Linked DNA regions of Homo sapiens: all the other regions are linked to region 1. The links are contacts of gene promoters, found by promoter capture Hi-C in human tissues and cell types (Jung and others, 2019). All regions are on one chromosome and are shown on one strand. The core of a region is centred on a gene start or on the middle of the fragment in contact, and the rest is flanking DNA. Distances in the headings are between cores, read along the strand shown. Region 1 holds the start of SNX30 (sorting nexin family member 30). Region 2 overlaps SUSD1 (sushi domain containing 1). Region 3 overlaps UGCG (UDP-glucose ceramide glucosyltransferase). Region 4 overlaps SUSD1 (sushi domain containing 1). Region 5 has its middle 28 kb from the start of LINC02977.

Region 1 (4,574 bases), core at 523-3,022:
AGGGAGCACCTATTTTATGCCAGCACTTTGCTAGGACTATGACATAAAGAATGCTATATAACTCTCACAACCATCTCATAAGGTATTATTACCTGCTCTCCATTCTCCTCCTTTTTAGGTTAGGAACAGGTTCACTGAGGTTAGTAACTTGCTCATGGTCACCCACTTGTAGTGACAAAGCCGAATTCAAATGTGGTTCTTTTTTCACTTTCCCCTGGTGTACTAAAGAGAAAGCTTGTATAGAGTCTTAATCCATACGGATGTCCATTATATTTAAGGCAGCCTGGTTGTTAAAATAAGTAGCACCATTCAATAAGAAAAACCGATGTTATACATCTATAGATGTATATACTCATTTCTAGAAATACTCATTTCTAGTTATATTGTGCTATTCATTTTCATGCTAATTCAGAAGAACAGATAATAGGGTCTGTAGTAGTTGTAAGCAGCCCTTGAATGTGAAAGTGTTAACAATTTTAATCCAACTCCAAGAGGACCAGAACTTGGCATTCCTTAGATGCAGCATTTAAAATTGTTCCCAGTGCCCTTTGAATGCTACTTTTCCCAGCCAAGGCAGGCTTATGTGGAGGAGATAAAGATGATAGCTTGAGGACTAAGGGTCCAACCCTATATAAATTACATTGGGGGAAATAGGGGAAGGTCTTTGAAGCTCAGAGTCTCTGACTGATATTTTGGGTAGATTTCAACCCTCTGCATTCTCTTCTATTTGTTTCTAGAGAAAACTGTGGTAGAGGCCTTAGTGAATCCCAGAGTCAACATCTGTCATCACCTTTTAGCAGGTAAGGCTAGGCAAACCTTTGAGTTTGGAATGGGTAGGGAAAATGTGGTCCCTCACGATGAGCCTCCCTACCCATTACTTTGCTAGAGGGACTGAAAACCCTTTAAAGACTTGGCCTTGGAAACAGAAGATCTAGGGACAGGTAAGGTGGAAAAAGGAGGTGAACCTACACCCCAAAGGGCTGGAAGTAACACCTTGACTATTTGCACCACGCCAGCAAATAAAGCTGAGAATCAGCTCAGCCCAAGGCCTGGAAAGGAAGCACAAATGCATGAAGAATAACTTGAACCTCATGGTTCTTTCAAAAGTCTCTTCGGCCAAAGTGTGAGTTGAAGAGTCGCATATCATTTGAGACTCTCTACTCATGCTCGCTGTTCTGAGGTTTGACTTTACACAAATCCAGCTCAGCTGCAGAAGCAAGCCACAATGGGGACCTCAGAGTGAGCCTGAAGACTCCCCACACCGCCTCTTTGAAGTCCCTTCCAGGTTCCCCACCCGATGTCCTCTAGCTCATTTGAGCCTTGTCGCCCTTTATGCTATTCTTCCGATATGGGTCGTAATTCCGTCTATCTAGGGTTCTTCCTGCGCGTGCCTTAGAGGCCAGAAGACCCTGACTCACGTGCGTGTCCTCAAAGCCCCCAGCCCCAAGCGTGGCTGCTGGTGGGCGCATCAGTAAACGCGGGTGGAACGGAACAGGCTCCTCCAACCTCTTTTCCACCTCTGATTTCCGTTAGACATTTGCTCCGCACGGCGGCCTCCGCGAGGCAACGTTGGACACTGGGAGGACAGCCGCAGAGGCCCAGGGCGCACTTCCTGCCGGGCGGGGGCGGGGCCGCGCCTCCTCCCTCCCTCCCTCCGTCCTTCCTTCCCCACGTGCCCCTTCCCCGCCCTCCCCGCCCCCTCCCGGGCGGCCGCGGCGCCTCGGGGGCGGGGCCGGAGCGGGTGGGCGGTGTGGCTGTGTGGGCTGGGCGCCGCGGCCGTGCTGCCAGCGGACCCGCGGCGGGCTCGGGCGCGGAGCGGGGGCGCGCGGCGCGGAGCGGAGCGTCTGAGCGCCGGCAGAGACCAGCCGGCGGGTGGCGGCGGCCCCCAGCACGGCCGGTGCAAGGCCTCGGGTTAAGCGGCGGCCGAGCGGGGCTCGGCCCGGGGTGCTCGGGGAGCTCGCCGCGGCGGGCAGCAGGAGGAAGCGGCGGCGGCGCGTCCCGAGCGGTGCGCGCCATGGCGGGCGGGCCCCCCAAGGCCCTGCCGTCCACGGGGCCCCACTCCCTGCGCGACATGCCGCACCCGCTGGCCGGCTCCAGCAGCGAGGAGGCCGTGGGTGGTGACAGCACGCCCAGCCCGGACCTGCTGATGGCCCGCAGCTTCGGTGACAAGGTGGGGCGCCTGGGGCCGGGGAGTGGGAGGCTTATTTCGCTCCCCGTGGGGGGGATGATGGATCCGGAGCCTTCGTGGGCCTGGGGCCGCGCCCACCCTGCCGCCCCTTCCCGGGGGACGGGCGTGTCCTGGCCCCGGAGCCCTCGGCGAAGCGTCTCCTCTGCCGCCTCCGCGGGGTCGCAGCCGCAGAGGGACAGGCTTCGCTGCCTGTGACTGGTCGCAAGCACCGGTGACAGCTGGTGGGGAGGGGTCCAGCCTGCGTGTTGGAGCGGGAGGCGTGTGTTCAGGGCAGGGCGCCTGTGTCCTCGGATGGGGTTCCGAGTTCCTCCAGGTGCATCCCTGCAGGCTGAGCTGCTGCATAACTTGTAGCTCCTCCAGTTTCCGAGACTGCACAGAAAGCAGGAGTTCCTGGCTTTCCGTGCTGGGACCGGGCAGCCCTGGGCTTACAGCGAGAGTCTTCTTCCCCCTAGTCAGTCATGTGGGGAGTGATCTTTGTTTAGGTTTGCTGTTTGTCCTGAGGAGTCACCTGACTCAGACCCCAGCCGGCGGCGGGAGGAGAGCCTCGTTGTGGTTTTCTGTCTGGGGCTCCATTCACCTCCGACGGCCTACCACTCTGTTTAGGTTTGGCAGAGGCTGGTTTTGTGGTTGATGGAAAGAAAGCTCGCCCTTTGACCTTCTTTGTACGGAGGGAGGCTCCAGATTTTCTTAGAGCAGCACAACCCTCCTGCTGCTTGGAGAGACAGCAGAGTCCAGGCAGGGGTAAGGGACGACCTCCTCCCTACCCCCATGGCCATTTCAGCTGTGAAGGAGACTTGAGCAGTGATTGTATCCCCGCTCCTGCCGTCACTTAGTCACTAACTGCAGAAATTAGAATTGTTCTCAGGTCTTGTGATCAAGATTTTCTCTCCCTAGTAAAATACTAAATGAATTCCCCCTTGTCCCAATATTAATGGGAGCAGGGGACCTAACTTTCTTCTCCCGTTAGAGGGGACACCATGTGGTACAGTGAAAAAGGAGTATGAGAAAATATAACCTGCCCTCCTTGCAGTCAGAAGGTCACTGAGCACTTAAAATCACTAGAGAGTGCGACTTGATGTACCTTCTGCAGAGGGTTTGTGAAAGCAGGGAGTGAAGTTCCAAAGCATTAGGAACAGGAAAATTAAAAAAGCTAATGGAGGCCAGGTGCAGTGGCTCACACCTGTAATACCAGCACTTTGGGAGGCTGAAGTGGGATGATTGCTCTGAACCAAAAGTTTGAGACCAGCCTGGGCAACATATCGAGACCCCGTTTCCACATACGCACACAGCATGGTGGCATGCACCTGTAATCCAGGCTACTCAGGAGGCTGAGGCGGGAGGATTGCTTGAGCCTGGGAGTTCAAGGCTGCAGTGAGCTATGATTGCACCGCTGTACTCCAGCCTGGGCAAGAGAGTGAGACCCTGTCTCCAAAAAATGTTGAATAACTGAATAAATTTGCTTTCTTATCGACAAAAATTGGTCTTAAAATAGTGTAGGAACTGGGGGTTAAACCTCATTTCCTTCTCAGTTCTGTGTGGGACACTGAATTAATTATCTATTGCTGTGTAGCAAATTACCCCAAAACTTATCACCTGGAAATAGTGTCTGTGGGACAATCTGAGTGGTTCTGAATTAGGCCTTTCTTGAGGTTGCAGTCAAGTTGTTGGCTTGGGCTGCAGTCATCTGAAGGCTGGATTAGGGGAGGATCCACTTCTAAGCTCACTCACATGGCTGTTGGCAGGTCTTAGTTACTCTCCATAGGGCTGTTTGATGTGGCAACTGGTTTTTCCCCCCAGAGCAAGTGATCCAAGAGAGCTCAAGACTCTAGCCAGTCTTGTATAACTTATCTTGGAAATGACATGCCTCTGCTGTATTCTGTTGGTCACACAGATTGACACTGGTACAATGTGGGGAGAGGGTGTGAATATCAGGGTGTGTATACCAAGAGGTGGGGATCATTGGGCCATCTTGGAGACTGGCTACTACAGATAGCCATTTAAAATATTTACCTAACGATTCACTCATGGATGATACCTGACTCAGAAGTATGAGCATTTTACTAATAAGCACTTGGAAGACAAATTCCCCGTACCACCAAGATCTGGTTAGTGGTGAAGAAGTCAGTCTCAAGTCTAATTACCGATGGCTTCCTTTAAAGGGTCTGTTCTGTGTAGGAGGGAGAGTCTTGAAGGCATTATTAATTATTGAATATATATGTATTTTTTTGAGCAGAGACTTACTCTGTCACCCAGGCTGGAGCGCAGTGGCCTGATCCTGACTCACTGCAACCTCCACCTCCCTGGTCAAAGTGATTCTCGTGTCTCAGCTCCCGTATAGCTGTGATTACAGGCGTGTGCTACCTTGACCAGGTAATTTGTGTATTTT
Region 2 (5,112 bases), core at 2,518-5,017, 630 kb before region 1:
TTCTGGGACTTCCCTGCTGCAGCACCCACACCCCAGCACATGCCATCTGGAAGTGCAGGGGAGTTAAAATCCTGTGGGGACAGGAGCTGGTAGAGAAATCCTTCCTCCTTTCTTTCCTCTGAAGGGCTGTCCAACAAAGACTTAGTTTCTTCAGCGTCTAAGGACACTGTCACACAGATGTGGTAATGCCCACCCTCTGTGGAGACCAGTACAATCAGGCATCATACGCTGACTCTCCTTCTTTCCCTGTTTTACTGCCCTTGTTTCCCACTCCTGGTGCCTGGGATTTGATTCTCTACTGCATAATAAATATAAACCCAGTGAAAGGCTCCCATCTAAGAAGAGTGAGAAAGCTATTTCTCCATGTCAGAAAATGACTCTCCACAACTCAGCTCCCGTTTCTCCCTTCTAGTAAATCTCTTCGCAGTCTCCAAGTGCAAAAGGAAGCCTGCACCTTAGGTACCTGTAGGGCCAATCCTATTCTCCTGTACTCAGAACCAATGCTAGCTTTGGATTGACCCAGATCTACTGACCTCTCTGCCCAAAGAAGAGTTTATATCTTTACTAAATCATCCCTTCAGCAGCAATGCCTAGATTCTGTGTCCCACATGACCTGGTCTTGGGTAAGCCCAAGTTATCTATTAGCAAGTGAAAATCAATGGAGGCAGAGAGGGAAAAATAGGCAAACTCCTGCCGAGATACCAGAAAGGCCACCTATGGCTGTCTGCAGCATTCCTGGATCTCTATATCAGTATTTCTCCCTAGAACACACACAATTTGAAATCAAAGAAATACTCCAATTGTGGGCCAAGTGGGTGCGGTGGCTCACGCCTGTAATCCTAGCACTTTGCGGGGCTGAGATGGGCATATCACTTGAGGTCAGGAGTTTGAGACCAGCCTGGGCAACATGGTGAAACCGCATCTCTACTAAAAATACAAAAAAATTAGCCAAGCGTGGTGGTACATACCTATAATTCCAGCTACTTGGGAGACTGAGGCACGAGAACTGCTTGAACCTGGGAGGCAGAGGTTGCAGTGAGCCAAGATTGTGCCACTGCACTGCAGCCTGGGCGGCAGAATGAGACTCCATTGCAAAAAAAAAAAAAAAGAAAAAAAAAAGAAAAGAAATACTCCAATTATGAGCATGGGTACCCTAAGAGACACAATGACCTTCAGTTCGCCCCCTTGGGTAGCATAAAGATGATGTTGGTACCAGTCTTTTATCAGCCTGAACAAGCCCCAGATATTTCTGGCCTCTACCCTCTTTGCTGCCCTTCAAAGCCCCAGAGCTCTTGGCATCTCTGCTCACTTACACATCCCTTTGATGCTAACTCACCACCTGGTCCAGAAAGAAAAGGCACCAGCCCAGCCCTCATCTTCTCTCTGAGTTGCCAGCAAAGCGAATTTCCTTTTTACTCTCAGTTCCTTTGTCATCGAAGCAGAGATTAGAAAGGAGTTTTCTTTCTTGTCCTTCCTTCTTGCTCATTCACTATGACAACTGTAAATGGCATCTCAAAGATGCCATCTGCCTCCAGCCTGTGCCATGCTCTCTGCACAGATGGGACCCAGATCCAATTATAGGGGTGTCAGATATTTCATCCCAGGGAGCAGTTTAACAAAGTTTGGTTGCTTTTCCCTCCAGGTGCCTACAAATTAGTTGGAAAGACTCCTTTATAAAAGAATCAGATATTCAACATCTACATTAATGCTGCCCTTTTAATGGAGACTATATGCCCTCATTCCAATAGTGCTGATAACTGAAAACATTTCTGGAAGTCCTCTTTGGAGCTGTCCCAGGGCTCTTTCATTCCCTGCTCACTACTAACTGAATGGCTATCAAATGCCAAGCATCCTGCCATGCCAGGCACTGGGCTGTGACGATGTTATCTGCTGACTATGTAGGGAAAAAGTACTCTTGAAAGTCATAGATCTGTGAATGTTAGTTGAAGGTATGGGTGCAGGTGAGATATGCAGGTAGGACAGAGACAGTGAATGGCCCAATGGCAGAACACTGGGAAACACTGAAACCCAGGGGGGAACCAGAGGAAAAAGGCAATGCAGAAGAGAGGCAGGAGGCTGGTAGAGTGACTGATGTCTAGGAAGGAAAGGAAGGACTTGAAAGAGTGTCTCTCAGCCTTCCAAGGCCAGGCACAGTGGCTGACACCTGTAATCTCAGCACTTTGAGAGGCCGAGGCAGACGGATTACTTGAGGCCAGGAGTTCAAGACCAGCCTGGCCAACATGGCAAAAACATGTCTCTACTAAAAATAGAGAAATTAGCCAGGTGTGGTGGTGCACACCTGTAATCCCAGCTACTCAAGAGGCCGAGGCACGAGAATCACTTGAACTTGGGAGGCGGAGGTTGCAGTGAGCTGAGATCGTGCCACTGCACTCCAGCCTGGGTGATACAACAAGACTCTGTCCCTAAAAAATAAAAATAAATTCTTTTAAGAAAATTATCAGCCTTCTTTCCCACCAGTCTCCCACAGCCTCCTCATCCCCTAGCCAAGAAGGGCCTGGAGCAGGTCAAGGCAGAGGGTGCAAACTCCATCTCCCTCTCTCCTCTCACATGGCTTTTCTCCCCTCATGGAGTGCCCACGGCATCAGGATTAGATCTGTGGTTTGACTTTGGGTAGAGGTGGGAAGAGCAGGCCCTCAGCCTGCCCAGTTGTAGAACACAGAGGCCTCTCTGGCTTAAAAGAAGGAGGCCCCCACAGTGTCCAGCTGAAGTCTCACTGGATTTGGGGAGAGAAAGTCTCAGTGAGTGATAAAGTAAGAGCCTTTGTTTTGCTTTACTCTATGTGTGTGTGTGTACACACAGGTACATATATATGTTATGTATATATAGATATAGATGTACATAATGTTATGTATTTTGGTATTTTGTTAGCATCTAGTATTTCTGTATGTGGTACTTAACACACTTGTAACTAAATACGTAAGTCATTATATAATGACCACCTCTCCTGAATGTAACTTTACGATGGCAAAGACCATGTTTCTCTCTCTATCCTCAGGCCCTAGCACAGTGCCTTAAATATAGATACTAAAAACTATGTATTATTTGGTTGAACTGGTTGAATGGATGGATAAAGGATCAACAATGCTAAATGTTGTGGAAAGGTTGAGAAGAATGACAGCTGAAACTGGAACATGAAATTGGCAGTTAGGTAGTCATCAGTCACCTTGGTGAGATGCTACAGTGAAGTGGGGGTGTTCGATGCCTGGTTTCCCCCCAGTAGGCTGAGAAGAGCATAGGAGGGGAGGGAATAAGACAGTGAGCCCAGACTACTCTTTCAGAAGTCCCACTGTGCAAGGACAGGGGCTGGTCTAGTGTACTCCCTTGGTTTCCAATTTTATATCCTTTTTCTTTATTTTTGGAAACAGCAAAAGGTCATAGAGAATAAATCCAGGTGACCCAAACAGATGGTCAAGCAAGCTCAGCATCATTTCTAGTCAAAACAGCATCTGATTTCAAAAGGAATGTAACTGATCTTCTAATACGGCTCATAAACTACCTCCAAAGGACATTATCAAATAGGATTCCAAGGCAAACACATGATGATAATGGCAGCACCACAGAAATCAGGGTATGGCTTCCCACAGTGCCTACTTGAATAAATGTATGTTTGGCTATAAAAGTTTTCATGTGTTTCCTTTCTTTCTTTGAAGTCTTAGATTCACATAAAATAAGTAGGAGTAGCATGGCTTAGAGTACGTTAGTGTAAAATATATTGCACACTTTGGGATGATTTTTGGTGGCACGCGAATACTTTTTTTCTTTTTTGGAGACGGAGTCTTGCGCTGTAGCCCAGGATGGAGTGCAGTGGCATGTTCTCAGCTGACTGCAACCTCCGCCTCCTGAGTTCAAGTGATCCTCCAGCCTCAGCCTCCCGAGTAGCTGGGACTACAGACGCGTGCCACCACACCCAGCTAATTTTTGTATCTTTAGTAGAGACGGGGTTTCACCATGTTGGCCAGGCTGGTCTCAAATTCCTGACCTCAGGTGATCCACCCTTCTCGGCCTCCCAAAGTGCTGGGATTACAGGCGTGAGCCACCGCGCCCAGCCAGGAATACATTTTTATCTGTTCGTTATGTATCAGTTTTTGTGTATATCAGAAAAATACACCTACTTCATCAAACTCATGAGATCACATATATTGTCCTTAATAAATTTGAATTATAAATTTAAGGTTAGGTTGTTTAAGGAAACACTCTAAGTAAATAATACTCTTATTATGGCAAACATTGTGTCAGGGTGGTATACAAATAATTCAAGCTTGGAAGACACTGATGTAGGAGAAAGAATGTGGTCTTTCTGGGCTTACAGGCCTCAGTTCAAATCCTGGCTCTACCATTTGCTAATTATTGAGTGACCATGTAAAAGTCACTTAACCTTTATGAGTCTCAGATTACTTATCTATGAAATGAAAATAACAAAGCTTACTTCAAAAGGGTTTTAAGAGGATGAAATGAAATCGAGCATTAAGGTCCCTAGCTGAGCCCTGGGTGTGTACGTTCATGCTCAGCCAGCAGTAGCTATAATGCTTGATGGTCCAAACCTCATTCACATATTCCAATACATCCGGCCATGTGGCTATTTATGTAAATGTATCCATTTATTCCGGCTGACCTTTCTGTTCCATCTGAAATGTGTGTGGCTGCAACTGAGCACCCAGTGGGCTGGAGAAGAGGGTCACCAGCCAAACAGAAGGGACAGAGGCCAACAGGAGTCCTGGAGGCATCAGAGCAGTGCCCAGAGCAGTTTAGAGGCACAGAAAGGATCCTAGCGATAAACAGCCTCTGTTCCAGCAGAGATGTTACCCTTCTGAGAGCGTGGAGTGAGTGAGCGTCAGCCTTATAATCATTAACTCAGATTCTAAACATGAAAAGCCAAATGGCCTGTGCAGAATGGAAGCCAGGGAAAGTCTTATCAAGAATGAATCAGTCTCTTTGATCTTGAGGTAAACCGACTCATTAACATCAAGCTTCCACCTGGGGTTTTTCCAGACACGAAAGTGATTGCCTAATTCCCAGCTGTCTGGAGTTTCCAGTCCAAACTGGCCTGGCGGGGAAGGAGGGGGCAGGAAAAAATAAGTCCCACCAGCTTGA
Region 3 (5,288 bases), core at 415-2,914, 840 kb before region 1:
GGCGAAGGTTGCAGTAGCTGAGATCGCACCACTGCACTCCAGCCTGGGTCGCAGAGCAAAACTCTGTCTTAAAAAAATAAAAAAAAAAAAATTCCAATCTGCCATGAGCCAATACTTTGGTAAACTACAATAAAAATAAATTGCTGATCACATGCTTGATGTCATGGCAATGTTAAATTGCTATACAAGTTTCTAAAAGGTTTCACTCAATTGTTTCTCACTTGCAAACCAGTAAAAAGCAATGCTGGACCAGACCACACTTTGAGTAGCACTGCGATAGATGGTGCTCCAGTATTTTCTGGTACTTGGTGTATCAGAAATTGATACCACCCTGTTCTTTAAATTTCTTGTTGGTTTTAAAGTTTTTCCATTGTAAACCTGGTGTGTGTGTGTGTGTGCGTGTGTGCACGTGTGTGTAAAACTGTATGGCCTTATCTAAAACGTTAGATGTTTGCTACAGCACACACCTGCCTTAGTTAGAGACCAAGCCCATGGCTAAGTGGTCTGGGTGGTGGTACCGGTGTCCCTCCAGAAGTCTTTCCCAGTTTAATAGTGGATTTTATCAAATCAAGATGCATTGATGCAAGTATTTTTTGATCATCTAGAAGTTCTCATTGGTTGATTTTCACAGTAAGTCAGAGCTGCCATCTGCCTGGCAGCAATTGTAAGGTACCATTGATGTCAGAGATGTTAAAATGTGGAAGAACATGTGTCTTAGAATATCTTGCAGATGGACCCATGATGTTCTAGTGCCTAATTACTGTCGAATGCTTGGAGACTTGTTTATGAGAAGTACTTGTCACATATTTACTAGAAGTAGGAGGAAGGCTTCAGTGGCTTCCTTTAGAAACTTCACCACTGTATTGAATGGCATCTTGTTGCAACAGCCTGATGTTAACTGGGGCACGTTCTGTCTTCTCTAGCATTGCTTCTTTCTTTTTTTTGAGACGGAGTCTCACTCTGTCACCCAGGCTGGAGTGCAGCGGCACAATCTTGGCTCACTGCAACCTCCACCCCCGGGTTCAAGTGATTCTTCTGCCTCAGCCTCCCGAGTAGCTGGGATTATAGGCACCCACCACCACGCCCAGCTAATTTTTTTTTTTTTTTTTTTTAGTAGAGATGGAGTTTCAGTGTGTTGGCCAGGCTGGTCTCGAACTCCTGACCTCAAGTGATCCACCCGCCTCAGCCTCCCAAAGTGCTGGGATTACACAGGTGTGAGCCACCACACCTGTGTGGCATTGCTTCTTTCATTAGGAGCCCTGCTGTGCTGCAGCATCCTTGCAATGGACAAGCAGTGAGAACGTTGGCCATTTGGTCACTTATCTATGAACTGGTGGCACTGGTATATCTTCCAGTGTCATTAATAGACATTTTTCTCATCATTGAGTTTTTTTCTTACTTTCAGTTTCCTTCTGTTCTACCCCTGCCATTCTGACCTTATTAATATTGGGAGTTCCAGTTGTCCCATTATCTTGCTTGCCATGCAGACTGCTTGACACTTCTTTTAACTGTGTATTATCCCACTGCAAAGAAATTTCTCAGAAAGTTCTGGTTATCCTTTCATAATTTTCTGCTGCAGACGGTGTTTTATTTTACCTGTTTTTATAGTTCTGTGGCCACTTCAGTGGCAATTTAAGAGGAAGAGGAGTTAATCTTTGGGCTAACACTGCCATTCATTTCTTCACCATGTATTTTATTGAAATGCCTGCGCTATGCCTGGCATAGTTCTGTGAGTATAGCAATAGTCAGAGAGTAGTACATCATGGGTATTCAATCTTTTGGCTTCCCTTGGTCGTATTGGAAGAAGAAGAATTGTCTTGGGTCACATATAAAATACACTAACAATAGCTGATGAGCTTTAAAAAATCGCAAAAAATCTCATAATGTTTTAAGAAAGTTTATGAATTTGTGTTGGACCGCATTCAAAGCCATGCTTACCTGGTTCTACTTCCCTTCATGTTTAGATCCTCTTTTAGAAAGATGTCAAGTTTTAAAAATCTTAACTTAGAATTTAGGGATTTATTGATAGCTTGTCAGTGCTTTGATTTGACACTAATGTATTCTATAGAAATAATTTTTATATCATTTGCTTTTTAGCCGATTACACCTCAACAAGAAGGCAACTGACAAACAGCCTTATAGCAAGCTCCCAGGTGTCTCTCTTCTGAAACCACTGAAAGGGGTAGATCCTAACTTAATCAACAACCTGGAAACATTCTTTGAATTGGATTATCCCAAAGTAAGTTCAGTGTTACGGTTTTTTGTTTTGTTTTGTTTTGTTTTGTTCCCCTCATGATAAACATTTAGGGATTTTAACACTGTATAAGGTGAAGGTATTAAAAATTCATGATGATATTGGCCTCATAAAATATAACCTTTAGTAGTAGTCATCACAGAACAGAAATAGGTTGAGGAAGGGGTGTAAATTCCCTTTCTAACCACCTATATGTCCGTGTGAAGTAGAGATCCCTGAGTAAACCTTCTGAAACTCAGACATTGTCAAGTGCCTGGTAGTTTGAAAATAAAAATTTTCTTCCATAAGAGCTGGATATGAACAATAGGAAGAGGAGACAAGGAGAGGGAGAAAGCAGTGTTAGTGGTCTGAAATGGGTTGCAGTACAGCCAGAACTAAACGTGACTTCTCCGGAGAAACTGGCTTTGAGCCAAGAATAGATTACAGTTAGTGGTACTGTAGGGTTTCATCTTACCTCATTTTTAATTTCCTTACTGTTCTGATTTTAATAGCTAATTGTATTGCTTATACCATTTATCTATATAATCTGTATATCTGTAAACTCAGTGTACTCCCTTAATTGGAGACCTTCCAGTTTTCTTGAGATGAAAGTATTCTTTTTATCACTTTGCTTTAGTAGTCCACCTGTAGTTTCTTAGGATAACTTAATATTCTTTGATTTTTGTACTTAGCTTTACAGCAGCTTTGTATTAAATTGCTTGAGACTGCTTTTGAAAGGGCATTTTGGTGGTAACAGATCACTTGTGAGAAGAATGTGTCTTTAAGCTTCTACCCACTTGACTTTCAGTACAGTTTAGTTTTCCCTTTGCGGTCTCTATTCACTTGCCTCAATTTTTACCCTATTGCCTCAGTTTTTCCATAGCTGTTTTTGCTACTGGGAGAGTCGTCCCTCTTAATTTTTTTGGACAGGGTAGCTCAAATAATCAGAAGGAAGATGATATGCGCACTACACTTCTTATGGTGACTGGTTTTCATGCTCTTATTTCTTTTCTTTTAGCCTTTATTTTTCTCGGTAGCACCAATGAAAAGAATAGAGAAGACACAGATGTGATAGCCTTAATGCAGCACTTATTAAGTAGGTAGACATGAGTATCATTCAGTTGTATTTTTAGTGTTTTTATATTATTGCTTTGGAGTTTTGGAGTTTAGAAGCCAATTTTGGAGTATTGGAAGCTGTTTTGAAGCAAAAAAATTATATGTTCTAGTTTGTGTGTGTTTATATGCTTAATAATTTTAGATATTTGAATTAAATACATGTGTTAACTTCAATCAAATATATAATTTTTAAATAAGATATAATTGTATATACTTGTTTTTTCAAACTAAAAAATGGTAAAACTTAGCCTTTTGTAATTGAGAAAGATATAAATAAAATTAATTGTAAAATAAGCTTTGCAGTAAGAAAAATGGGAGATTTTCAAGCTCCATAAAAGTAAATGCAAAGGAGAATTAATGTTTACGAATGAAAGAAATTTTCTATTGATTATGAATGAATCTTAGAGCATAGCTTAGAGTCATATGCATTATCATTGTGAAACTTAATCTCACATTTCAGTTTTTTAACCATCCTCTTTCACTTTCCCCATTCAACCACTCTTAAAATTGGTCATGGAATTTTTACGTTGTAGTGCTTGTGAGATGATAGTCATGGGGTTTAAATGCTTGAGGAAGTCAGTGAGGGGTTTAGTTGTAGAAAGAATGGTTTTTTGTGTTCGTTTTTGTTTTTAAGACAGTATCTTGCTTTGTCACCTAGGCTGGAGCATAGTGGCACAGTCGTGGCTCACTGCAGCCTCAGCCTCCCAGGCTCAACCAGTCCTCCCACCTCACCCTCCCTGGTAGCTGGGACTATGGGCATGTGCTACCACACCTGGCTGATTTTTGTATTTTTTGTAGAGGGTGTTGCCATGTTGCCGGGGCTGGTCTTGAACTCTTGGGCTCAAGCAATCCCCCCACCTCAGCCTCCCAAAGTGCTGGGATTACAGACATGAGCCACCATGCCCTACTGAAAGAATTTTAAAAAGTAACCCCAGGGTTATATGTATCCATTGATTACGAGCATTTCTAATGACCCCATAACTGATTTCTTGTGAATGAAGATTTTGGCCAGGCGTGGTGGCTTGTGCTTGTAATCCTAGCACTTTGGGAGGCTGAGGCGGGAGGATTGCTTGAGGCCAGGTGTTCAAGACCAGCCTGGGCAACACAGTGAGACCCCCACCTTCAAAAAAATAAAAATTAAAAAATTGAAATAAAAAATTGTTTTGGAAATTACAGTTTAGAATGATCTCAAGAGCTCTTGTTTTCACTTAGAGTAGTAGCTCTTTTTCCATTTAGTTATATCATTTAAGTGGGTTGAGGAGAAAGCTATTTTGACATTCATTGTAAGATGAAGAATAGCATCTGCAGATTATTTTATTCTTTGTTAGTACAGAATTTTATTTTCTAATTATAAACTTATATTTAGCTGTATAAATAGAAAGTTTGGAAAGCAGAGGAGAAGTGCAAAGTACCTGCAATCTAAGGGAAATATTTGATTTCACAGCATTTTATTTACTTGGTGAAAACCAAATACAATGGCAAATGTTCCACAGGAGACTAAAGTTAAACCACTGAAATCACGCATATCTGAGCATGAACAGACAAGGCATTTGTGTCACCAAGAAGTCAAGGAGACCCAAAATAAACATTTACGTGACTGCCAGGCGCAGTGCCCTTTCATATTTGCATTTTGCCTGGTGTGAACATCGTTTTACCAGAGTATGGAAATGTTTTCATTTTGGACATAACTTTCTCTTCTAATATTCGATTGGGACTATCATAGGCCATTTGGGGGAAAATAATAAAACATATCTTCAAGTTTTAAAATTTTACTTAATTTTGGACATGTGCAAGAAAATTTACTGCTACTGGTACTTGCTCTGAATTTCTAGGTTTCAATTTTGGTGAGACTAGACTAGTTGCTCTGAAAGATCTCTGCGCTGTATTCATCTTACAAGTCTACTTTTATACTGATACTCATTCCTTGGGAAGACATAAA
Region 4 (5,308 bases), core at 749-3,248, 610 kb before region 1:
ACTCTGAAACATACTATTAGTACTTATCTATGTCAATAAATATTCTTTTTTTTTTTTTGAGACGGAGTCTTGCTGTGTCACCCAGGTTGGAGTGCAGTGGCACAATCTCAGCTCACAGCAACCTCCACCTCCCAATTCTCCTGCCTCAGACTCCTGAGTAGCTGGGATTACAGGTGCACGCCACCACGCCCAGGTAATTTGTTGTATTTTTAGTAGAGATAGGGTTTCACCATGCTGGCTAGGCTGGTCTCGAACTCCTGACCTCGTGATCAGCCTGCCTTGGCCTCCCAAAGTGCTGAGATTACAGGTGTGAGCCACTGTGCCTGGCCTGCAATAAATATTCTTTTTTAAATATTGTTTTTCTAACATAATTTTATTGGATACATAATATTCCATTTTAAGGGATTGATTCACTTAACCAATCTCTTGTTGTTAGACATTTGAGATTGTTTCTAATATTTCACTACAATAAATAGTTATAAACAAATATAACCACAGCAAATTAGAAGGCTTTACACTTCTTTGCATGCACAAATAAATTGGAAAATCTGGATGAAGTAAATGATTTTCTAGAAATACATAATTTACCAAAATTGATCTTAAGAGGGAAAGAAAAAGAATGGACATGATTAGATATACCAGCAAGTATAGGAAGAATTTAAAAGTAGTCCAAATAGTCCAAGGGCTACCTCTCCAATAGTGCCACATCCAGATGGTTTTATAGGTGAAATCTCCCAAATCTTTAAAAATTCTATTTGTAGTATTCCAGAAATAGAGAAAGAAGGAAATTTTTACATTCTTTTTTTTAAAATTCAGAATAACATTAATACCGAACTGAACAAAGATGGCACAGGAAAAGAAAATAGAGCAATTTCACTTATGAATATCAATGCAAGATTTATAAGTAAAATTTAGCAAATATAATCCAAATGAAAGGAATAAAACACCAAAAACCCAGATTAATTCATTCCAGCAATTAGTACTGATCATTATCAGGAAATCTAACAATATAACCCACACATTATTATTATTATTTTTTCTTTATGAGATAGGATCTTGCTCTGTCACCCAGGCTGGAGGGCAGGGTGTGATCATGGCTCACTGCAGCCTCAACCTCACAGGCTCAAGTGGTCCTCCCACCTCAGCCTCCCAAGTAGCTGGGACTATAGGCATGCACCACCACTCCCAGGCTGGTCTTGAACTCCTGGGCTCAAGCTATCTGCCTGCCTGGGCCTCCCAGAGTGCTGGAATTACAGACATGAGCCACTGCATCTGGCCACATCGTTATTTAAAAGAAGAAAAAAAATATATAATCACCTGCCTAAAAGACATGATAAAAATAACTTATTTCCAATTAAAAAAAAAAGAAATTCCTAAACAGTGGGAATAGATTGATGTTTCCTTTAGATTATGGACATATAGCCAAAAACTAGAAAAATGGTAATTAAAAAAATTTTTTTTCACTTTTCAGATGGAAACAGGCACATAAAATGATAATATTTGTAGACAGAGAAACAGAAAACCAGGTCAAGTGTGGTGGCTCATGCCTGGAATCCCAGCACTGTGGGAGGCAGAGACAGGCAGATCACTTGAACCCAGGAGTTCAAGACCAGCCTGGGCAACATGGCGAAACCCCATCTCTATAAAAAATACAAAAATTGGGGCCGGGCGCGGTGGCTCACGCCTGTAATCCCAGCACTTTGGGAGGCCGAGGCGGGTGGATCATGAGGTCAGGAGATCGAGACCATCCTGGCTAACAAGGTGAAACCCCGTCTCTACCAAAAATACAAAAAATTAGCCGGGCGCGGTGGCGGGCGCCTGTAGTCCCAGCTACTGGGGAGGCTGAGGCAGGAGAATGGCGTGAACCCGGGAAGCGGAGCTTGCCGTGAGCCGAGATTGCGCCACTGCAGTCCGCAGTCCGGCCTGGGCGACAGAGCGAGACTCCGTCTCCAAAAAAAAAAAAAATACAAAAATTGTCCAGGCATGGTAGTTCGTGCCTGTAGTCCAGTTACTCAGGAGGCTGAGGTGGGAGGATGGCTTGAGCCCAGGAGCACCAGTGCACTCGAGTCTGGGTGGCAGAGCAAGACTCTGTCTCAAAAAAAAAAAGAAAAAAGAAAAGAAAAGAAAGGAAAAAGGAAAAGGAAAAAGAAACAGAAAGCCAAAATTTTTAAAAAACTAACCAAAAGCCAGTGTCACCATAAAAGCAGAAGCAGCAAAACAAAGTGGCTGAAAATAATTCTGAAACTAGAATTCCTGGGTTCAAGTTCAGCTCTGTCTCTAGTTGTGTGACCTTAAACAAATTACAGTCATGCATCATTTAACAATCTGCATACATTTTGAGAAATGCATCATTAGGCAATTCCTTCATTGTGTGAAGTCACAGAGTGTACTTACACAAACCTAGATAGTAGAGCCTGCTACTCACTTAGGCTGTATGGTATACCTATTGCTCCTAGGCTACAAATTCACACAGCATGTTACTATACTGATTACTGTAGGCAACTATAACACAATAAGAAGTACTTATATATCTAAATATAGAAATGATACAGTAAAAATACAGAATAAAAGATAAAAAAATGATACACCTGTAATAGGGCACTTACCATGAATGGAGCTTGCAGGACTGGAAGTTGGTCTGGGTGAGTCAGTGAGTGAATAGTGAGTGAATGTGAAGGCCTAGGACATTACTGTACACTTTTATGTATAGTAATGTACATACAGTAATATACATACAGTAATGTACTTGCTGGCAGAGCAGTAAGTTTGTTTACACCAGCAATGCCACAAACACGTGAGTGTGATGCACTACAACATTATGATGGCTACGATGTCACTAGGCAATAGGAATTTTTCAGTCTCATTATGATCTTATGGGACCACTACAATGTGGTCCATCATCATATATAAAGTGCTTAAAATAATACTTGGCACACAGTGCCATATGAGTAGACATGATTAGATATGCCAAATATCAGCCAGGCGCAGTGGCTCACACCTGTAATCCCAGCACTGTGGGAGGCCAACACGGGCAGATAACTTAAGGTCAGGAGTTCAAGACTAGCCTGGCCAACACGGTGAAACCCCATCTTTACTAAAAACACAAAAATTAGCCGGGTGTAGTGGTGGGTGCCTGTAATCCCAGCTACTCGAGTGGATGAGTCATGAGAATCGCTTGAACCCAGGAGGCAGAGGTTGCAGTGAGCCAAGGTTGTGCCACTACACTGCAGACTGGGTGACAAAGCGAGATTCTGTCTCAAAAACTATATATATATATAAAAAATATATAATATATTACATGTAATGTATTATATATAATATATATTACATGTAATATATAATATATAATACATTACATGTAATATATTACATATATTGTATATATTGTATATTATATATAATATATGTTATTCCCACATGACGTTTTTATATATATATGTATATATATACATATATGTGTGTGTATATATATGTATATATATATGTTCATTCCCACATGACTTCTGGGAATATATATATATATATACACCTAACATCAAAAAACTAACATCAGGAATGAAGAAACACCCAAACCATTTCCCTAATAGTCAGGAATAAAAAAATAATATTCAAAGGCAACACTACCATTTAAGTCTTTGTTCTAAAAATACAAAGTGATCAATCAAGAGAAAAACATAACTATTATAAAGAAAGAAAAATTTATGAATGGAATTATGATTTGCAGATGATATGATACTATTCCTGAAAAATCAAGAAAATCACCTGAAAATCTATGAGAAACAAATAGGAATTTTAAAGGTTTACTTAACTCATTTATTCCCTGAAACTGAAATTTAGAGAAAAATATGAAAACAGTTTCAAGGTGGTATGAATTGGGAACCTGTATTTTTTGAAAACTCACCTTGGCAATGTAATTTTGGGGACTCCCATGTGCCCAGGCCTGTGCAGCTTGAAACTGTATCTTCTGGAACACTGAAGAATCCTTCTCTGCAAGCATAACGAACCTGGCTGCCCAGACTAGACGTATAATTTCCTATGATATAGCCATCTGGAACCTCAGGAGGGGTACCACAGTCTATTTCTGAAAATAAATTAATGTCAAATTCATTACCTCGTGAATGTAAATCTTCAAAATTCACAATCTCTCTCCACCTCTACCCTATTCCTCACACACACACACCCCCGAGCCATATTTTAAGTACACTGGTTCATTCCCACATGACTTCTGGGAACATTTCCAACAATTGTCTTTATTCAATCTTTTGGCCTTCCATAGGTAAAGCATCTATACATGCACAAAGCTGAAATAACTTAGCAATCAACCCTCACTAATTTACACTAACTAAAGAGAAGCCTTGTCCAGTGAAATAAAAAATCTGAATTGCAAAATACCTTAAGATATATGTACCTTGATTATTTTCAGGGTCACTTTTGAGATGCAGGGACCTTACCAAATCATTGGCATTTACTATCTAACATAGTAGTTAATATCGGAATATCTATTAACTGCTAATAAAAATCCTTTAAGTTTATGAATTTTAGCTTTTTTTTTTTTTTTTTTTTTTTTTTTTTTTTTTTTTTTTAAGACAGAGATCTCACTCTGTTGTCCAGGCTGGAGTGCAATGGCATGATCTCGGCTCATTGCAACCTCTGTCTCCTGGGTTCAAGAAATTCTCATGCCTCAGCCTCCTGAGTAGCTGGGATTACAGGTGCCCACCACCACACCTGGCTATTTTTTTTTATTTTTAGTAGAGATAGGGTTTCACCGTGTTGGCCAGGCTGGTCTCGAACTCCTGACCTCAAGTGATCCACCAGCCTCGGCCTCCCAAAGTGCTGAGATTACAGAGCTACTGCTCCTGGCCTAATTTTAGCTTTTTTAACATGGCCCCCTGTAACTTGATTGTTGTTATTTGCTTTATGTCATAGGTTGTACAAAATGTGCAAAGGATCAGATCACCTCCACCTGCCTCCCCAACACAGGCTTGGAGCAGAAGAAAGTCACCATCAACAGAATTTCACGTTGAGATGCCGCAATTTTTGGCAGAAACCCACCTGTGCATGATGTGGCATCGGTGGTCGGGTGGAAAGGTTCAGGTCCATTCCTTGGCAAGTATCCATCCATACAGTAGCATTCAAAGCTCCCATGAGTGTTCACGCATCGCCCTCCATGCCTGCACAGGCCAGAAACTTCACACTCATCTATGTCTTGGGACCCAATCCAAATAGAGAAAAGGAGATAAAAACAGAAAAAAGAAAAAAAAAAGGAGAGGATATTGTGACAGCCATTTTTTCACATTTTCAAGCTACT
Region 5 (5,336 bases), core at 2,752-5,251, 740 kb before region 1:
ACAAGAGAACTAGAATTAGAAGTGGCGCCTGAAGATGTGACTGAATTACTGCAATCTCATGATAAAACGTGAATGAATGAGGAATTGCTTCATATGTATGAGTAAAGAAAGTGGTTTCTTGAGATGAAATTGACATGTGGTGAATTTTCTGTGAACACTGTTGAAATGATAACAAAGGATTTAGAATATTACATAAACTTAGTTGAAGAAGTACTGGCAGGGTTTGCAAGGATTGACTCCATTTTTGAAAGAAGCTCTACTGTTAGTAAAATGCTATTAAACAGCATTGCACGCTACCAAGAAATCTTTCATGAAAGGAAGAATCAACCAATGCAACAAACTTCATTGTTGTCTTAGTTAAGAAATTTTCCCAGCCACCGCAACCTTTAGCAATCCCCACCCTGATGGGTCAGCAGTCAGCAACATTGAGGCAAGACCCCCCTCACCAGCAAAAATATTATGACTTGCTAAATGGCTCAGATGATCATTAGGCTCACATGATCATTAGCATTTTTAGCAATAAGGTATTTTTAAATTAAGATAAGTCCATATTTTAGACATAATGTGATAGCACACTTAATAGACTCCAGTATAGTGTAAACATAACTCATAACTTTTTTTTATTTTAGAGACAGGGTCTTGCTCTGTCACCCAGACTGGAGGGAAATTGTGCAATCGTCTCGCACTGCAGCCTCAAAGTCCAGGGCTCAAGCGATCCTCCGGCCTCAGCCTCCCAAGTAACTAGGACCAGAGGCATGCACCACCACACCCAGCTAATTTTTAAAATTTCATCACCTGGAGGAAATGCCAATGCATAAAAATGACACTTTTTTTTTCTTTTTCATGAGATAGGGGGTCTCACCATATTGTCAGGCTGGTTCTGAACTCCTGACCTCAAGTGATCTTCCCTCCTTGGCCTCCCAAAGTGCTAGAATTACAGATAAGAGACACCACACCCTTGTAAACATAACTTTATATGCACTAAGAAACCAAAAACTTGTATGGCTCACTTTATTGCCATATTTGCCTTATTGGAGTGGTATGGAATTGAACTACAATATCTCTGAGGTATGCCTGTAAATGAATTACCATAATGTGATGTGGGCAACAGAATCCAGGGAAGATTCAGAGGGTGGAGACATCCCATCAAAACTTTCTAATTTGGGAGAAATTGTCCAAGACTCTGAGGAAAACCAGTCATAATATCTGAAAGTAAGTTTATGCCGAAAAATCTTAGGTGGACCTGCAAGTCGAAAAAGCAGGTCAAGACTACTAGGGGCAGAGAGGAGGGAGAATGTTTAAGTTGGGCTCTAATGGTAGGATTTGGACACGCTGAGATTGAGGAGACCTAAGGGTGTTACTTCCATAATGGAACCAGTAAAACAAAAGCCATGATTGTCTAATAGAAAGTCTTTGCCAGGGAGGCTTATGAGATAAAGCATGATAGGAATCAATTTGCAACACAAACCTGAATGTTCCAGAAAGTTCATATGGCTTTACTTACTTTAAATTATGGTAGGCATGACACTGAGCTTCCTTTCTGCTCAGCTAGTGGGAAATTTAATTTCAGAGGTTGAGAGGATTGCCTTCTCTTCCCCACCTCCAAATCCCATGCCCAGTCCCAGAGCTAATGGCCAGGAGTGTTTATGTGAAGCCAAACATTCATGCGGTATGTCTGGTCATTGGTTTACATCAGAGATCCACAAACTTTTTCTGTAGAGAACAGATAGTCAATATTTTAGGCTTTGCAATCCAAGCAGCTCTCTGTCACAACCACTCAACTCTACCATTGTTGCTTAAAAGCAGCCGTAGACAGTAGGAAAATGAATGAACTTGACTGTATCCCAGGAAGACTTTATTTATGGACACTGAAATTTGAATTTCATATAATTGCATGGGTCATAAAATATGATTTTTTTTCCCAAACACTTTAAAATGTCACCATTCTAAGCTCATAGGTTATACAAAAACAGACGACGGCCCAGATTTGACCTATGGGCCAACCCCTTATCTACGAGGTTTCCACCAAGTTGCCTGCTGGCCAAGCTTATAGAGTGAAGTTGGACATCCCTGTTGTTCCCCTGGAAATCTTTGCCAGAGCTGAGAGCCTCCATACCCAGAGTCAGAAAGACCTTTCTAGGCTCAACATGCAGTCATGGCTCCCGGACACCCTGTCATCTTCCTGAGATTCTATGGAGGGTGGGCCACAGAGCCCCATTATTTTAAAAACTGTGCATATCCTTTCCTTCCCTTGGGGAATAATCTTAAGGACTGTGTCTCTCAAAAACACTCTACCACTTCTTCTCCTAGCGCAGCATGCTCAAATCCCTCAGAGTGAAGGAGGAAAAAGTCAGGACGGAAAGTGATGTGCAGGCTTCTTCTTTGGGCCCTGAAAGCTCAAAGTCCTGGCTACCTGCCCTGAAGGCTGAGTAATGTACAAAGAAAACAAAGACAAATAACTCAGTAAATTATCCGGCCTAGGATCAGAGCTTTCTAGCCCCAGAGCAAGCTCAGGCCTCAACATTCTAAGCTTAAGAGGTCAGGCTGTCCCTCCATATTTCAATGGGTACAGGTCTTGAGTTTCCTCAGAAAACCTCTGAAGGGAGGTCACAGTTATGGGGACAAAGAAGGAAAGTGTTGGATTCAGGACACCAGGCTCCACTGAAGGTGACTCATGGTTTTGGCTTGCAAGCAACGTTGCTGATCACTTTGACCAACCACAGGTCCCTGCCAGCTGCACTCCTCTCCAGGAGCACTCCTATTTTTATATGTGTGGTACAAAGAACTCCTACCAGCTAATTTCCACTTCCCCCACAAAAGCCTGTTTTACTTCTGCTTTGAGTAAAAAGCTTTCCTCTTTCTGGTCTCAAAGCACACACTCAACAGTGCCTGTAATTCACAGTCATCTGGTACCCTTGGCTTATCTCAGGCCCCTGTAGTAACAACTGGCTCCAAGCATGTCTCCTACAGCCACAAGCTCCAGTGGGGTAGCCAGGTTCACTGGAAGAGAATGTTCCCTACACAAGGGAATCTGAGACAGAAAAAGTCATCCTCAGAAAGTAGGGACTGGTGGACATGTGAGCCTGGGAAATGAGAACAATTTGTGCTGGGAAGTTGCTCATGTAAAGAGTTCACAGAGCAGGTATCTGCTGCCCAGGCTTAAACTCTCAAGTGGAAAATGGAAACCATCATTCCAGATTGGCTTCTTACCCTGTATCTGTGCATTCATCAACCTTTGACAATAAGGTCATTTCTTAGCCCCACACATAGCATATAGGAAAGATTTATCCAAGCCCTGCTATTATAGATGAATAAATGAAACACATTCAGGAGGTTGCCCATACAGTATTTGCCTCATTTTCCCCACAGCTCTAGAGAAAGGACATTTTATAAGTTCTGTCATTCCACAGAGCTGTACAAAGCCGCCTGGCTTAACTGACTTAATTTCTTTTTTTTTTTTTTTTTAGAGACAGGATCTTGCTCTGTCACCCAGGCTGGAGTGCAATGGTGCAGTCATAACTCACTCCAGCCTGCAGCTCCTGGGCTCCAGCAATCCTTCCACCTTGGCCTTCCAAAGCACTAGGATTACAGGTATGAGCCACCATACCCGGCCTTCACTTTTTTTTTTAACTTGACAAAATGGTTCTTAAGTTCAAGATGGTTAGCATACATCTGCTTTCAAGACAGAAAGAGGGGGAAAAAGAAGGAACAGCCACAGTTGTTCACGGTATCAGCGAAGTAAAAACTTTCCCAGAAACTCCCCTAGTAGACCTCACTTCTGCTTAATTAACTGGAACTGTACTTTCTGTCTGCCCAGAGCAACAAAGGAGATTGGGAACTTGAGTGTTCAGCTTCTTCAGCCCCTAGTGAGGAAGAGGAGAGGGATTTGGATGGTATAGAAGGAGTCAGTCTGAATTCTGCTTCAAATAGCTAAACAATTTTGAAAACTAAAAGCCCAACAGGGAAAACTAGCTCTGCTCTCTATTAAAATTATAAAATTATAGAACTATGGGATATAGTTTCATACAATATCATAAAACTATAAGAATAAAATCAAAGTTGAACACACAGGATTTGGCAGAGATTAATAGGAGAGACAAATTAGCCCAGAAACAGATCCTAATACTCAATATAAGGGTTTTTCTGTTTGTTTTGTTTTGTTTGTTTGTTTGTTTTTTGAGACAGAGCTTCACTCTGTTGCCCAGACTGGAGTGCAGTGGCGTGATCTCGGCTCACTGAAACCTCTGCCTTCTGGGTTCAAGCGATTCTCCCGCCTCAGCCTCCCGACTAGCTGGGATTACAGGTGCCTGCCATCACATCCGGCTAATTTTTGTATTTTTAGTGGAGATAGGGTTTCGCCACATTGGCCAGGTTGGTCTCAAACTCCTAACCTCCAGTGATCCACCCACCTCGGCCTCCCAAAGTGCTGGGATTGCAGGCAGGAGCCACCGCGCCTGACCAATATAAGACTTCTTTAAAAGCCATCACAGATTTCCCAGGAAGAAAACTTCCATTCAATATAATAAACATTGGTGCTATTGTGCTGGAATAATTGGGAAGAGAATATATTCTCACCATATCAACCGTTCTTACCATGACATATATAAAAACTAAATCCATAAAGAATAAAATAAAGGAGAATAATTTTGTACTCTTCAGTCAAAAGACAAGAACTGAGCAGAAAGCTTGGCAGGTAGGAGGGAAGGACTGGGTATGGTTATGAGACCACCAGGGCTGTGGCCCCCACAAGTAGGATACTGAAAAAGGTCAGCAAGGCAGGACCAAACACCGCTTAGTGATGTGGCTGTATCTGTGTCAGTGAACAAACAGCCTATGGGCCAATTCCAGTTTGCCAGCTGTTTTGGTGTGCTCGCAAGCTAAGAATGGTTTTTATACTTTTACATGATTGAGGAGAAAATCAGCAGAATAATATTTCATGACATGAAAATCATATGAAATTCACATTTCAGTGTCCATAAATAAAGTTATTGAGACACAGCCACACCCATTCATTTAGGTATCATCTGTGGCTACTTTTGTGCAACATGGCAGACTTGAGGACTTACAACAGAGAACACCTGGCCTACAAAATCGAAAATATTTATTATCTGGCTCTTGCCAGAAGAAGTTTGCCAATTCCTCAGCTCCATGATGAAGTGAGTTTGCTGCGTAAGGAACTTGTGAGACTGAATCAGCCATGGCTGTTGTTGGAGGGAAAATTAATCCAGAGGGGAATTCATCATCTACCCCGACTGATGGGCCAGGGTCCCTTCCTCTCTTTGAAGCTGATGGTCTGAGCAGAGGATGCCTGCACTAGCAGTCAGGTGAAGTTAAAT

Evidence for each region. Contacts are between HindIII fragments. The study calls those that stand out against the background at their distance.
Region 2: a fragment that was not itself captured here is called in contact with the fragment with the promoter of SNX30 in region 1 in 1 of the 25 tissues and cell types used here (IMR-90 fibroblasts).
Region 3: a contact is called between a fragment that was not itself captured here and the fragment with the promoter of SNX30 in region 1, in 2 of the 25 tissues and cell types used here (IMR-90 fibroblasts and lymphoblastoid cells).
Region 4: a fragment that was not itself captured here is called in contact with the fragment with the promoter of SNX30 in region 1 in 1 of the 25 tissues and cell types used here (IMR-90 fibroblasts).
Region 5: a contact is called between a fragment that was not itself captured here and the fragment with the promoter of SNX30 in region 1, in 2 of the 25 tissues and cell types used here (adrenal gland and mesendoderm cells).

Annotation. Positions count from the first base shown.
Region 1 is chr9:112,748,988-112,753,561 of GRCh38, forward strand. It overlaps SNX30 (sorting nexin family member 30), which reads left to right and starts at 1,773. Exons shown (of 9, transcript NM_001012994.2): 1 at 1,773-2,170. The coding sequence starts at 2,015. It overlaps SNX30-DT (SNX30 divergent transcript), which reads right to left and starts at 1,578. Exons shown (of 1, transcript NR_186503.1): 1 at 1-1,578. RefSeq lists a silencer at 1,531-2,350 and enhancers at 1,620-2,541, 2,542-3,461. The HindIII fragment of the contact is 10,773 bases long and covers 1-4,574 here.
Region 2 is chr9:112,114,716-112,119,827 of GRCh38, forward strand. The region is part of intron 6 of SUSD1 (sushi domain containing 1); the gene reads right to left. Among named protein-coding and RNA genes, the nearest start is that of SUSD1, 58 kb to the right of the region's middle. The HindIII fragment of the contact is 3,368 bases long and covers 2,084-5,112 here.
Region 3 is chr9:111,912,508-111,917,795 of GRCh38, forward strand. UGCG (UDP-glucose ceramide glucosyltransferase) reads left to right here. Exons shown (of 9, transcript NM_003358.3): 2 at 2,098-2,239. Among named protein-coding and RNA genes, the nearest start is that of MIR4668, 17 kb to the right of the region's middle. The HindIII fragment of the contact is 3,334 bases long and covers 1-3,331 here.
Region 4 is chr9:112,138,419-112,143,726 of GRCh38, forward strand. It overlaps SUSD1 (sushi domain containing 1), which reads right to left. Exons shown (of 17, transcript NM_022486.5): 4 at 5,053-5,205; 5 at 3,902-4,081. Among named protein-coding and RNA genes, the nearest start is that of SUSD1, 34 kb to the right of the region's middle. The HindIII fragment of the contact is 5,677 bases long and covers 1-4,837 here.
Region 5 is chr9:112,009,745-112,015,080 of GRCh38, forward strand. No RefSeq gene overlaps it. Among named protein-coding and RNA genes, the nearest start is that of LINC02977, 28 kb to the right of the region's middle. RefSeq lists enhancers at 2,347-2,396, 2,507-2,646, 2,887-2,936, 2,977-3,216. The HindIII fragment of the contact is 6,094 bases long and covers 955-5,336 here.